4 separate regions of the Homo sapiens genome follow, and all the other regions are linked to region 4. Evidence: promoter capture Hi-C in 16 types of primary human blood cells and fetal thymus (Javierre and others, 2016). All regions are on one chromosome and are shown on one strand. The core of a region is centred on a gene start or on the middle of the fragment in contact, and the rest is flanking DNA. Distances in the headings are between cores, read along the strand shown. Region 1 has its middle 6.6 kb from the start of ZNF613. Region 2 holds the start of ZNF841 (zinc finger protein 841). Region 3 holds the start of ZNF614 (zinc finger protein 614). Region 4 holds the start of ZNF160 (zinc finger protein 160).

Region 1 (3,432 bases), core at 525-3,024, 1.2 Mb after region 4:
TAGAAGTTACCTGCCAGGTATAGGGAAGGGCTGAGCCTTTCTTTGGAATGTTCAGTTTCTGGGTAACCCAGACTCGCTCTGTTTATCCTTTACTGCACAGCTTGTCTTCACACCATGATGTCTTGAATCTCAACTGGAAGACTCAGAAGGTTGGGGACTGGAATCATCTGAAGGCTTCTTCCTCTCTGTATCTGTGTGCCAGGCTGGGATTACTTGAAAACTAGGCTCAAGGAGGCTGCCAGCCAGAGCACCTGTGTGTGACCTCCACATGTGACATGGATGGGCTTCTCACAGCATGATGCTGGCTCTGAGACAGCCAAGATGCGGCCACAGGGCCTTTTCTGCCTTAGCCTCAGAAGTTATGTTGTGTCACCTCTGTTGCATTCTGCAGCTAGCTCAGTCGGTAGAGCATGAGACTCTTAATCTCAGGGTCATGGGTTCGTGCCCCATGTTGGGTGCCAGATGAAGGAGGCCTGCCCCTCCACACCTGTGGGTATTTCTCACAAGGTGGAGACGAGAGACTGAGAAAAGAAATAAGACACAGAGACAAACTATCGAGGAAGAAAAGTGGGCCCAGGGAACCGGCACTCAACATACGGAGGACCCGCACCAACACTGGTCTCTGAGTTCCCTCAGTATTTATTGATTACTATCTCTACTATCTCGGTGAGGGGGATGTGGGAGGACTATAGGGTAATGGTGGGAAGAGGGTCAGCAGGAAAACGTGAGCAAAGGACTCTGTGTTATAAATAAGTTTAAGGAAAGGTGCTGTGCCTTGATATGCACATAGGCCAGATTTATCTTTGACTTTACACAAACATCTCAGTGAAGTAAAGACAGTATTGCCCCCACCATGTCTCACCTCCAGCCATAAGGCAGTTTTCTCCTATCTCAGTAAATAGAATGTACGATCGGGTTTTACACTGACACATTCCATTCCCAGGGATGAGCAGGAGAGAGATACCTTCCTCTTATCTCAACTGCAAAGAGGTCTTCCTCTTTCACTAATCCTCCTCAGCACAGACCCTTTATGGGTGTCAGGCTGGGGGACAGTCTGGTCTTTCTCTTTCCATGAGGCCATATCTCAGGCTGTCTCAGTGGAGAGAAACCTTGGACAATACACAGGCTTTCTTGGGCAGAGATCCCTGTGGCTTTCTGCAGTGCATTGTGTCCCTGGGTACTCGAGACTGGAGAATGGCCATGACTTTTACCAAGCATACTGCCTGCAAACACATTTTTACCAAGGCACATCCTGCACAGCCCTAAGTCCATTAAACCTTGAGTCAATACAATACATGTTTCTGCAAGCATAGGGTTGGGGCTAGGGTTACAGATTAACAGCATCTCAAGGCAGAATAATTTCTCTTAGTACAGATCAAAATGGAGTTTCTTTTGTCTTCCTTTTTCTACATAGATGCAGTAATAGTCTGATCTCTCATTCTTTCCCCCATGCTTTTCTGCCTTAGCCTCGGAAGTTATGTTGTGTCACCTCTGTTGTATTCTGCAGGTACAAGCAAATCACCAAGACTAGCTAGGTTCAAGGGGGAAGGGAATAGGCTCCATCTCTTCGTGTGGGAGTGGCAAGATTTAGCAGAAGGTTTTCTTTGGAATGTGAGATATTATTGTGGTCATCTTTGGGAAATGCAGTCTACCACATGGACACAATAACAAATCGTTTCCTTTTCCCTGAGGAGAAAGCTCCTCTAGAAAAGTGAATATTTCATGTTACTTAAGAAGAAATTTCTTTGATGGGTCATGATATAGATCATATAGAAGTTAGTGCCCCCACAGATAAGCCAGTGGTGTAATACCAAAACCAAACTCAGTGATCAGAGTGCTTCAGGGACCCAGAACAGTGTAGCCAAAGTCCACAGCCTCCTGGGGGTCTGTTTTTATTCAGGGATAAAATGTAGAGATTTTTAAGATGGATGGATTCTATGACCATCATATGGTCTTCCACAAAGAGTCCTCAATATTCTGCTTTTTTTTTTATCAGTGGTTTTCATTTTTTGACCCCAGGTGACATTTGGCAATGTCTGGAGAAATTTTTGATTGTCACACCTGGGAAAGGAGGGTGTGCTAATTGGAGCTAGTGGATAGAGGCTAAGAATGCTGCTAAGCATCCTACAATGACACTACAGTGCCCCAAAATAAAGAATTCTCCAAACCAAAATGTCAATGCCTGTTACAGTCTGTTCCTATGGGATTGAACGAAATGGGACAAATGCAGAAGTGAAGACAAAGACAAAAAGATACATTTTAAAAGAAGGGGTCAGGGGACTCCTTGCTTCTAGTGAGCAAAGACAGCCCTCAGCTTCTACAGCCCTTCATATGTATTAGGTAGAATCAATAGGGAGAGAGAGGTAACGGTTGGTCAGCTGCTTTGATTCATTAGAGGTACACATAATTACTTTCTTTATACAACAGGCTTCAGATGTTCCTATAGATAACCACTGTGGAGCACTCGATTCTGTCACTGTTTGGGGGGGGCCACTATGTAACCTGCCACAATCCCTGGTGGGCTGAACAAAGTGGGGCAAATGCGGGAATAAAAGACGAGACAAAAGAGTATATTTGGAAGAAGGGGTCAAGGAGCACCTTGCCTCTAGTGGACAAAGGCTCTGAGCTTTACACAGCCCTTTGTATTTATTAGGCAAAAGGGATAGTGAGAAGGGGTGTGGAAGAAGGGGTCAGTTGGTTGGTCCAGAGTAGGCTTGCAAGATTGCATTCCTCAAACAACAGGCTCTAGATGTCCCAGCAGATAACCTCAGCGCCAGGGAATGATAGCCGCCAGCAAACTTTCTGTCAGCAGGCACAGTCGTGAGTTTGCCCATATCCTGCATTTGTGATAAACAGTTTGCTGTTTGATCATGTAGCTTCCAGTGGAATGCTGAGCTGATCATGTCCCATGGGCCTTTGGCTCCCTACAAACCACAAGGAACACTCTGCCTGGGGTGTGACTGCTCTTGGCACTCCTTCTGGTGGCAGATGCAATTTGTCAGTTTTCCAACATCCTGCTTTCATGAGAACAGTTTTCTGTTTGCTCATATAGCCTCCAGTGGTATACTGGGTTGGTCACAACCCCCATTTTCTCGGCCTCCAACAAATGCAGATTGAGCATCCCCTATCAGAAATGCTTGGGACTGGAAGTGTTTCAGATTTTAGATTTTTTTTTTTTTCAGAATGCTTGCTTACTTACTTACTTATACTTACTAGTTGAGCATCCCTAATCTGAAAATCCAACATTTGAAATGTCCTGGTAAGCATTTCCTTCAAGCATGACCTTTGTGCATCACCTCAGCCCTAAAAAGAATTTCAGATTTTGGAGCATTATAGGTTTCAGAATTTTGAAGCAGGGATGCTCAACCTGTAGTGCTGAGGTAGAGAAACTCCTATTTACATTGATTAGTAAACAGTTCCAAGTTATGTTGA
Region 2 (3,333 bases), core at 443-2,942, 1.0 Mb after region 4:
TATGTGCCCAGGCTGGTCTTGAACTCCTGAGCTCAAGTAATCTGCCAGACTCGGCCTCCTGAATTGTTGGGGTTACAGGCCTAAGCTACCTTGCCTGGCCCATCTGAAAAGTCTTAATCCATTTCAGTATCAACTCTAAGGCCCAAATATCACCTAAATATTATCTGAATCACATATGGGTGAGACACAAGGTGTGGTTCATCCTGAGGCAAAGTTTCTGCCCAGCTGTGAATCTGTGAAGCCAGAGAAGTTATCTGCTTCCAAAATACAATGGTGGGACAGGCATAGGAAACACCCTCAGCCCTGGAAACCACCCTTCTACTTTGTTACTCTGAATTTGATGTTTGTACTTAGCACGTGTAAGTAAGTGCATGAAGTATGTTTCTTTGTGTGTGTTGGGAACGGGTGCTCAGTGTCGCAAAAATCAACACTGAGACAAAGGATCTCTCAGCAAGGCTAGTTTACTTTCTGCAGAAAGGGTGCTGCTCACTAGCAGTCTTGCCACGAGAGTACACATGAACAAAAGAGAAGGGTCATTTATAACCTGACGCATCTGGCCGGGCGCGGTGGCTCATGCCTGTAATCCCAGCACTTTGGGAGGCCGAGGTGGGCGGATCACGAGGTCAGGAGATCGAGACCATCCTGGCTAACGCAGTGAAACCCCGTCTCTACTAAAAATACAAAAAATTAGCTGGGCGCAGTGGCAGGTGCCTCTAGTCCCAGCTACTCGGGAGGCTGAGGCAGGAGAATGGCGTGAACCCAGGAGGCAGAGCTTGCAGTGAGCCGAGATAGCGCCACTGCACTCCGGCCTGGGCGAAAGAACGAGACTCCGTCTCAAAAAAAATAATAATAATAATAACCTGACGCGTCCACCCTACTGCTGTGTCTGGTTTCCATTGGCTGGAATCGGACCCAATTCTGTGCTTGACCTGATTGGCTAGCACCTTAGAACTTCCCAAAAGAGGCAAAGGCAGAGGAGAACAAAGGAAGAGAGGAAGTAACTTGTGGAAGGCTGAGAGAGGCAAAAACACTTCCAAATAAGGAAGAGGAATAGGCTGTGACCTAATGCTTGCTTGGAACAATTCAGGCATGCCAGGGCAAATATCTAGGCTAAAATGTGGGAGCTAAGAACACAGAGTATATTGATTTATCTATTATGGCTAGCAGATATTTAAGAATATTAGCACAGGTCTTTGAGTAAATTTTGCTTCTAAGAGAGGTTACTATCTATTCTCAATTAGACTGGGAGGAAAGTCCCTTTGAAGAGGAACCTCTACTTATTTCATTTTCTACACTGTGTCTAGCACATTTCGCTTGGCATAATGTCTTCTGGGTTCCTGGATCCAGTCACTGCTCCACATCCAATCCCCACCGAGATCCCAGTTCCCTGACTACTGAGTAGCTTCAGCTTTTCTGGTAAGACTGGATGGAGTCCACCAGGCTCGGAAAAATCGGTTTTGACTTAAATCAGTTCAACTTGTTAAGAATAAATCATCTTAGTTTCCAGTATAAGTGGACCACAACTTTAAGATTCAACCTTAAATTCTGAAACATTAATTTAAAATGGGCAAGGAGCAACGCTGCTTCACAGGACAAGAAATAGTCACAAATACTCCCAAACCTGGAAAACAAAATCCTGCTGGGTGAGAGGCGGAGTGGAGAACAGGCCCCGCCTCGGCCCCGCCCACCCCTGGAGGCCCCGCTTCATCCCAGTTTTCGGTCCAGCCAAGCCCCACCTAGTCACGCCCCCTACCGCCCTGGGCCTCCCACCACCCTTTCGGGCCACTCCCAAGTCAGGCCAGTCTTTCCGCCCAGCCCTTTCCTAGTCGCGCCCCGCCTAGGCCCCGCCCCCAGGCCGCCCAGTTTTTCTTTCCGCGCCCAGTTTCCTGCACACCCGGAAGCAGATCGCGCTGGGGAAAGGCCACGTCGCTATGAGTGTGTTTCAGTCTACCTGGATTAAACGTTTGCTTCTCTTCGTCTACCTTGATTAAACGTGCACTTCGCAGTCCTCGGTTCTCCATACCCGTGACCTGGGGATCGCTACGGACCTTAAAATACCCGCAACAGCCCCTTCGTCCCAAGTAAGTAGGAGAATTGCTTCCCTTTCGGTTTAAAATCTCTCTGAGGCCGTTCCTTGCTCTCTGCCTTTCTTCCTTAGGACCATGTAGACAACCCCATTCAGGTAGTGTTCCCGCTTAAAACCCTCTGCTTGGGCCCCGCGCCAAGTCGAGTCCTCATTCGGGATGTGGACTAGCGCCCTTCGCGATCCCCGAGCTCCTCCGTCGTCTGCCCCTGGAGGGGAGCGCCCACTGTCCGGCTCCTGAAGGAGCCGCTTCTCCTCCCACGTCCTGGGATTCTGCAGACCCTCCCTGTCGTGAGACATCGTTCTCCGCGCCACCTCGTGTCGTCCTCACGCCGGGTCCTTCCGCTCCCCAGGCTTCCCCTTCACAGCCACTGCTTTTCTTGACTCCCCGTTGGGACAGGTTACCTGAGTCTGTCTTGTGACACCCAGTGTTCTTCCTTCCCAAATTTTACTCCACTGGAAAATGTGCTCTTCCGGGAGGTGGGCATCCTATTCCTCCCCTTTCCTCCCGAATGTGTGGGTGAGAGGGATCAGGAGAGGAAAAGACGGGGAACGACGGAGCAAAAGGAAAAACTGAGGAGAAAAGAATGAGGGAGACCCATAAATACACGGCAAAATGGATGATACTTTAGGGACTTGCAAAGAGAGCAAGAGTGAAAGAGAACGGATGGAAAAAGTAGCAGGGGGAGAAAAGCACACAGAGAAATTTAGAAAAAAAGGGGACCTTCAGAGAGATGAAGGGCAGCAAAATAGAGTGGGGCGGCAAAGGAGGAGGCACTGCAGACAGACAGACAGTGGGGAGAAGGTGAAAGAGTTGGAGCCGCGGCTGACAGAGCTACGTGGTGCTGGGACTGAAAGAGAGGGAGAGAGGGCAGTGGGTGACAAGCAGAGTAGAGGGAGAACCACAGCAGGGAGTAAGCCTAGGAAATTGGGGGTGCTAGAGAGTGGGAACAAAGGAGATGTAACAGGGAAGAGGGAATTTAACAAGGAGAGCAGAGAGGGAGCTTAGATGGGGGAAAAGAGGCAGAAATACGTGGAGATTGGGGACAATCGGAAAGATTGGGGAGAAAGAGCTACGAGAGGTGAAGTAAGTTGCAGAGCATTGGGCAGAACAGACATAAAAGAGGGAATAAAGAAAGGGGTGCAAAACAGAAAAGGAGAAAAAAAAGACGCTCAGAATGAGAGAGGGAAACACATAGCCGTGAAGAAAGCGGGAGAGGACCCCATCCAGATGCGTGACAGTTGATTGG
Region 3 (3,286 bases), core at 241-2,740, 1.1 Mb after region 4:
GAAATTACAAAACGTAAGTAAAATGAAGAAATTTTAAGTCACCATAATTGTACGGAACAGTCAAATATTGTTAGTATATTCTCCAGAATTTTTCAAATGCATGAGCATATTTATTTTCTGAAAGAAAACAGCCTATTTTGCATTTATCATGCCATGAACTTATTATACATCATCATACCTATTTTCTAAGATCAACATGTTTTATAATATATTCATGATTATGGTACAAAGATAGTAAAATTAAGTATAAATTGGGAATATTTTTCAAGTAAAAACATGGCATTCTCTACCTATGAACACAAACAATATTAATTCAAACTAAATGTCTTGTTTAACCAATCACAATTTTCCAAAAGATGTTTATGATTTCTTCCAATAACAAGACCATAAAATATATACTATCCTGCAGATCATTTTTTTGTCCTCTGACAAAGTTTTCTTTTTTATAAAACAATTGTAGCATATTCTTTTAAATTGATATATACTCTTACAGTTCAGCAGATGTTCCATAATTTACCAAAGTATTCATCTCTCATTGTAATTCCCTTTTTTTGTAAATTACAAAAGTTGTGGTTAATATTAAGACAGATTTGCCTAGATAGCTTTTAGAATTGCTGTGTCAAAGAAAACGAAAAAATTAAATTGGCTCTAGGTTGCCTTCCAAAAATACAATATTTACTTAAATCTTCTACAGTTACAACGCCAACATCTGCAAAAATAGAACTAATATTTTTTAAGTGTGACTTTTTAAAAAATCTGGAAACATTGCAAAGTAGGATGATCGCATTCTAATAATTTCATATTCTTAAGTGCCCCACTGTCATCTTCCTTTACTTCTGGAAGGAAACATGTAGATATTAACACAGTTGCACCTTCACCTCCTCATCCCCTTCCCCACTGGCAGTGGTTTTAATAGCAAGCCCCATGTGGGTATTAGCATTTAATGGAGCATCACTCCTGTTCTCGGCTTCGTCCATTCAGTCAGAGTCTAATCTAACCCACAAAAGCCTTACCCAGCCCAGAACCCCCGCCCTATCCCCAAATCTAACACTTTCAGTGACCACTGGTTTTGGCAACTCTGTGACCGCTTCCTGGCCAGCACCGTGACTTCTTCAAACCTTGTTTATTTTTCCAAATTGTCCTGGATATGAGCATCTTCTCTGCCGTACGGCTGCTGCCTTCCTCTAAGATGGCCGTGCCCATGGTGCTCCAGCTAAGGCTCCACTCTCAGCTATAATGGGCACAAAGGGCGCCGCCATCTTTTTTCCACAGCAGGCTGAATAGAATGCCACTGCGCCGTGTTGGCCTTGGCTGGGCACCCGACTCTTGAGTGTCCCTTGCAACGAAGAGAGAAAGGCACTGAGGTGACTAAGAGTGATTCCCACAGCCATTATGGCCGCTCCTGTCAGAAACGCTGCGATGGGCGCAGCCCTGTGACCTCATAGAGCGGCGCCCGCAGTCTGAACTCGCGATCCCGGGCAGGCTCCGTGGTCCTCGCCTCGCTTCACGGTCTTTACCGCTCAGCTTCCCGGAGTCCGCGCAGGAGCGCGTCTGAATAGGAAGCGTTTTCGGACGTGGATGCGGCGTTTTGTCGCTGCCAGTGGTGTCTGGAGAGGTTCGGGCTCGGGTGAGTCGAGTTCTGGGCATGGACTCGCGGCCTGTGGGTCTGTGTACCGATGGTGCGTGGAGCGTCCTGATTGGGGCTGTATTTGAACGCAGTCGCTGAGGAAGCGGGGCGTTAATGACGGGTCCTTTGGCTGTAGGGATGAAGAGTCTGAGGAAATCAGCGACGAGTCCGACTCTGTCTGGGTCTGGGGCCCTTGTGAGTCACCCTTTACGGGTGTTGGGCTGGGGGACGGTCAGGTCTTTCCCTTCCCATGAGGCCCTATCTCAGGCTATCACATGGGATATTATCTTTCCTGAAGAATATAACATGTGCTCTTGAAAAAAATGTTTATTTTACTGCTGTTGAGTGCAGTGTTAAATGTTCGTTAAGTCTAGTTGGTTGATAATGTTGTTCAAGTTTTCGGTATCCTTGCTGAGTTTCTATTTGTTTTCTTTATTATTGCAAGTAGGGTAATGTAGTCTTCAATTATTATTGTTGAATTGTCTAATCCTCTCTCATTCTGTTTTGCTTCATACGTTTTTAAATTATCATATTCTTATATATACACCCTTATATTATTATTGCCAGCCATTGTAACCATTGTTGCCACTCACCTAGGCCTTGGTGTCCAGAGTTTTATTGGATATCAGTTAACACACACACACACAATTGACTGCCTATGAGGCTGACTTCAATCTCCAGCTCCTCCAGATATCAAACTAATACCACGTGGTCCAAGGTCTCCCACAGTAAATCACATTATTAGGATAGACAATTTGGCATGGCTTAAATTGCCCTGATAACCAAAGACAGTTTTATCAAGCAGCGTATTCCAAAGGCTTAGAGTTTGCCTCATAGGAACTGTGGGCAAAGGACAAAGCTCTCTTGGGTAAAGTTACTCCTTTAGCGCATAATGTGAAATGAGACAGTTCTTGTGATTTGCTTAGTACATTGGTCTTGACACGAGGTATGTATACCCAAAGAGCTTACAGAGACTTTCGAACCAGTACATGGGCACACGTGGTTTTTAAAGACATTCTTGGAGCCTTCCATGTGTTCTCTTTCCTAAAATTGATCTGTCTGAGAATTCACCTTGAAGGGGGCCACCCCTCCACAACCTGTGGGTGTTTCTTGTCAGGTGGGATGAGAGACTGAGAAAAGAAATAAGAGACAAAGTATAGAGAAAGAAAAGTGGGCCCAGGAGACCAGCACTCAGCATACGGAGGACCCACGCTGGCACTGGTCTCTGAGTTCCCTCAGTATTTATTGATCACTATCTCTACCACCTCGGAGAGGGGGATGTGGCAGGACAATAAGGTAATAGTGGGGAGAGGGTCAGCAGGAAAACATGTGAACAAAGGTCTCTGTGTCATAAATAAGTTTAAGGAAACGTGCTGTGCCTTGATGTGCACGCACACAAACATTTCGGTACAATAAAGAGCAGTATTGCCACCAGCATGTCTCACCTCCAGCCCTAAGGCGGTTTTCTCCTATCTCAGTAAATAGAACAGACAATGGGGTTTTACACGGAGACATTCCATTCCCAGGGACGAGGAGGAGACAGATGCCTTTCTCTTATCTCAACCGCAAAGAGGCCTTCCTCTTTTACTGATCCTCCTCAGCAGAGACCCTTTACAGGTGTCGGGGTAGGGGACGGTCAGGTCTTTCCCTTCCCACGAG
Region 4 (3,297 bases), core at 684-3,183:
ATCAGGGCGGGAGGATCAGTTGAGGCTAGAAGTTCAAGACTTGCCTGGGCAACATAGTGAGAATCCGCCTTTGCAAAAAGTAAAAAAATTAGTGGAGTGTGGCGGTGCAAACCCGTAGTCCCAGCCACTTGGGAGACTGAGGTAGGAGGATCACTTGATTCCAGAGTTGAAGGCTGCAGTGAGCTATGGTCTTGACACTGCACTCTAGCCTGGGCAACAGAGCAAGATGCTCTCTCAAAAAATAAATAGACCGGGCACGGTGGCTCACGCCTGTGATCCCAGCACTTTGGGAGGCCAAGGTGTGGGGGATCCCTCGAGCTCAGGAGTTCGAGTCTAGCCTGAGCAACATGGCGAAACCCCGTCTCTACAAAAAGTACAAAAATTAACTAGGCATGGTGACGTGTGCTTGTAGTCCCAGCTACTGGGGAGATTGAGGTGGGAGGATTGCCTGAGCCTGGTAGATGAAAAGTTGCAGTGAGCAGAGATGACGCCACTGCACTCCAGCCTGGGTGACAGAGCAAGACTCTCTCCAAGAAATATGTAACATTTTTAACATAACATAACATAACATAACAAACTTTCCCTGAATAACTGTAGTCATGCCAAGTGCTCATCCACAGCCTCATAACTTGTGCTTGTGCTTTCTAGCCTTGTTTACTCCTCCATATATGAAAAAAAGAAAAAAAAGCTTTTTAGTTTGTGTCTCTTGGACATTTTCAGATCTTGTGATTGGAACATTCTCTCTATTGCAATAGTCCTTTTGAATAAAATCTTCCTTCTCTAAGTCTGAATTTGTCATTTACAGTGGTAAATATCTTAATTGTTCTGAGATAAATTATGTATATTATCTTTTTGTGGCAAAGGACTTAATATATATTCAGTAGGTGAAAGTAGTTCCTGGGGCCAGGTATGGTGGCTCACGCCTGTAATCCCAGCACTTTGGGAGGCTGAGGCGGGTGGATCACTTGAGGTCAGGAATTCGAGACCAGCCTAGGCAACATGGTGAAACTTCATCTCCGCTAAAGAACGTGGTGGCGGGCGCCTGTAATCCTAGCTACTCGGGAGGCTGAGGCAGGAGCATTGCTTGAACCCGGGAGGCCGAGGTTGCAGTGAGCAGAGATCATGCCACTGCACCCCAGCCTGGACGACAGAGCGTGACTCCGGCTCAAAAAAAAAAAAAAAAAGTATAGGCGTTTGAGGTTGTCATCTCGCACGGAATAGAATAGTAAGTATAAAAAAGGACAATGCAATTTATATCTATTTTTTAAAAGTTACTGCTAATTTCAGGGCTTTTAAATTACTTAATTTTAATCGCAGAAACTTTTCCAGCATGCCATCACCGCTCCGTGTCAACCCATGTTCCCAGACTCCTGGGCTGCTTCAGCGTCAATAACATTACTGGGTAAACGCGCTAGCAAAAAATGCTTTCAACATAAACCGCCTCCATTCTAAGAGGAAAGCAGTTTGGTTTCCAAAATAACCTACACAACTGTGCTTTTAACTTGAAACCGTTTGAAACATCTACGCCGTTCCACAAGACACTACAGATGGCTCTGGGCGCTGGGCTGTGGGCATCACACGAAATCGCAGACCCTAACGTGTCCCGTCCAGCCCCGCCTCTCCCCCGGGTCCCTTCCTGGCGGTCCCTCTGCCTCCCTCCCCCGCGGTCCCTTCGCCTTCCTCCCCCGCGGTCCCTTCCCGCGGTTCCTCCCCGCCCTTCCCCGGCGGCTCCTCCCCGGCCCGCCCCCGGGTCCCTCCACTTGGTCACTCCCCACCCCTCCCCGGTGGCTCCTCCCCGTTCCTTCCCTGGGGTCCCTGCCTGGCGGCCCCTGCTTCAGCCCGGCTCTCTCAACGCCCCGCCCTTTTCCGGTTCCGCCCATCTCGGACCCCGCCCCGGGCCGCTCGGTCGCTTTCCTTCGCGCAGTTGCCCACAGACCCGGAAGTGGATCGTGCGGAGCAAGCATCACACCATGGCGTATGAGTGTTCCTCTGTGTAGACTCAACCTGCGCCTCGCCGTCCCCCATTCGCACACCCGATGCCCGGGGGTCGCTACGGACTTAAAATCTCCGCACCGCACCCTCCACCTCAGGTAAATAGGCCTTGCTGTGTGGGCCCGGAGACGCTTCCTTTTGGGTTAAAGTCGCCCTGAGGCTGGTCCCTGCCCCCGGTCTTTCTGCCTTGGGCCAAGTAAACACGGCCTTTCCCGGTTTTTTAAACGTTTAAGCAGGATTTTCCTGCTTAAAATCCTTTACTGACTCCTCCTCCCGCCCCGCATCGCTTAAAGTCCTCACCGCCTGCCCTGGGCGCCTCCCAGCCTCGCTCTCGTCGGCCCCTGGAGCGCAGCGCCGCCGACCCAGTCCCGGGGAGGCCGCGCCTCCGCCTGGTCCTGGGATCCTGCACATCCCACCCCTGTCCTAAGGCGCCGTCGCCCCCCACCTCCCTCCTCCTCGTGCCGGGCCCTGCTGCTCCCCAGGCCTCCCCTTCGCAGTCACCGCTTCCCTTGAGCCCTCGTTGGGGAGGTGCCCGGGGCCCGTCCTGTGACACCCGGTGTTTTTGCCTGCCCAGCTCCACCCCCTGGAAAATGTACTCCTCCAACATGCAGACATCTTACTACAAACCCTCCAGTGAATGTGTGGCCCAAGGGAATCAGGAGAAAGAGAGACAAAGAGCCACTGAGAGGAGATGGAAAAACCAAGAAAGAGAAAAGAAAAATGAGGGAGACCCATAAACAGATGGCAAAGTGGAGGATGGGTGAGAGATTTGCAGCGACAGAGTGAAAGAAGCAGTCAAGAAAGTAGCAGGGGCAGAAAAGCAATTGGCGAAATGTAGAGAAAAGCTCGATGTCCCGAGATGCAGGACAACAAGATAAGGAGAGGGACAGCAAAGAAGGAGCCTCCTCAGACAGAGAGTGGGGGAGAGGAGAAAGGATTTGGCCGAGGGCAGACAGAGCTGCGTGGTGCTGGGACAGCTGGAGGGGACAGCTGGTGACAAGGCGAGCAGAGGGAGCACCACAACACAGGGAGGCCTGGGATCTGGGAGTGCCAGAGAGTGGGGATAAGCGGGTGTAACAGGGAAGAGGGGATTTAACAGGGAGAGCAGAGGAGGCGCGGAGATGGGGTAAGAAAGAGGCAGAAATAGATGGAGATTGGGACGATGAAAAGATTGGAAAGAAAACGCCACAAGAGGTGAAACAAATTGGAAGAATGGAGTAGAACAGATATAAGGGGAAAAAACAAAGAAGGGAGAAACAGCAGAAGAAAAAAGAGGCACAACATCGTCAGAATCCTAGGGGGAAG

Evidence for each region. Contacts are between HindIII fragments. The CHiCAGO score rates a contact against its expected background, and 5 or more counts as called.
Region 1: a fragment that was not itself captured here is called in contact with the fragment with the promoter of ZNF160 in region 4 in 1 of 17 cell types (non-activated CD4 T cells); the score reaches 5.1 in non-activated CD4 T cells.
Region 2: a fragment that was not itself captured here is called in contact with the fragment with the promoter of ZNF160 in region 4 in 1 of 17 cell types (total CD8 T cells); the score reaches 5.2 in total CD8 T cells.
Region 3: the fragment with the promoter of ZNF614 here is called in contact with the fragment with the promoter of ZNF160 in region 4 in 2 of 17 cell types (activated CD4 T cells and naive B cells); the score reaches 6.4 in activated CD4 T cells.

The regions. Positions count from the first base shown.
Region 1 is chr19:51,919,169-51,922,600 of GRCh38, reverse strand. No RefSeq gene overlaps it. Among named protein-coding and RNA genes, the nearest start is that of ZNF613, 6.6 kb to the left of the region's middle. The HindIII fragment of the contact is 3,557 bases long and covers 1-3,432 here.
Region 2 is chr19:52,094,323-52,097,655 of GRCh38, reverse strand. It overlaps ZNF841 (zinc finger protein 841), which reads left to right and starts at 1,891. Exons shown (of 7, transcript NM_001136499.2): 1 at 1,891-2,081. The HindIII fragment of the contact is 4,438 bases long and covers 1-3,333 here.
Region 3 is chr19:52,026,583-52,029,868 of GRCh38, reverse strand. It overlaps ZNF614 (zinc finger protein 614), which reads left to right and starts at 1,490. Exons shown (of 5, transcript NM_025040.4): 1 at 1,490-1,627. It overlaps LOC112268244 (a long non-coding RNA gene), which reads right to left. Exons shown (of 2, transcript XR_002958414.2): 2 at 89-2,757. RefSeq lists enhancers at 1,003-1,762, 2,233-3,003. The HindIII fragment of the contact is 7,426 bases long and covers 1-3,286 here.
Region 4 is chr19:53,102,058-53,105,354 of GRCh38, reverse strand. ZNF160 (zinc finger protein 160) reads left to right here and starts at 1,933. Exons shown (of 6, transcript NM_001322131.2): 1 at 1,933-2,090. RefSeq lists a silencer at 1,481-1,890. The HindIII fragment of the contact is 3,069 bases long and covers 691-3,297 here.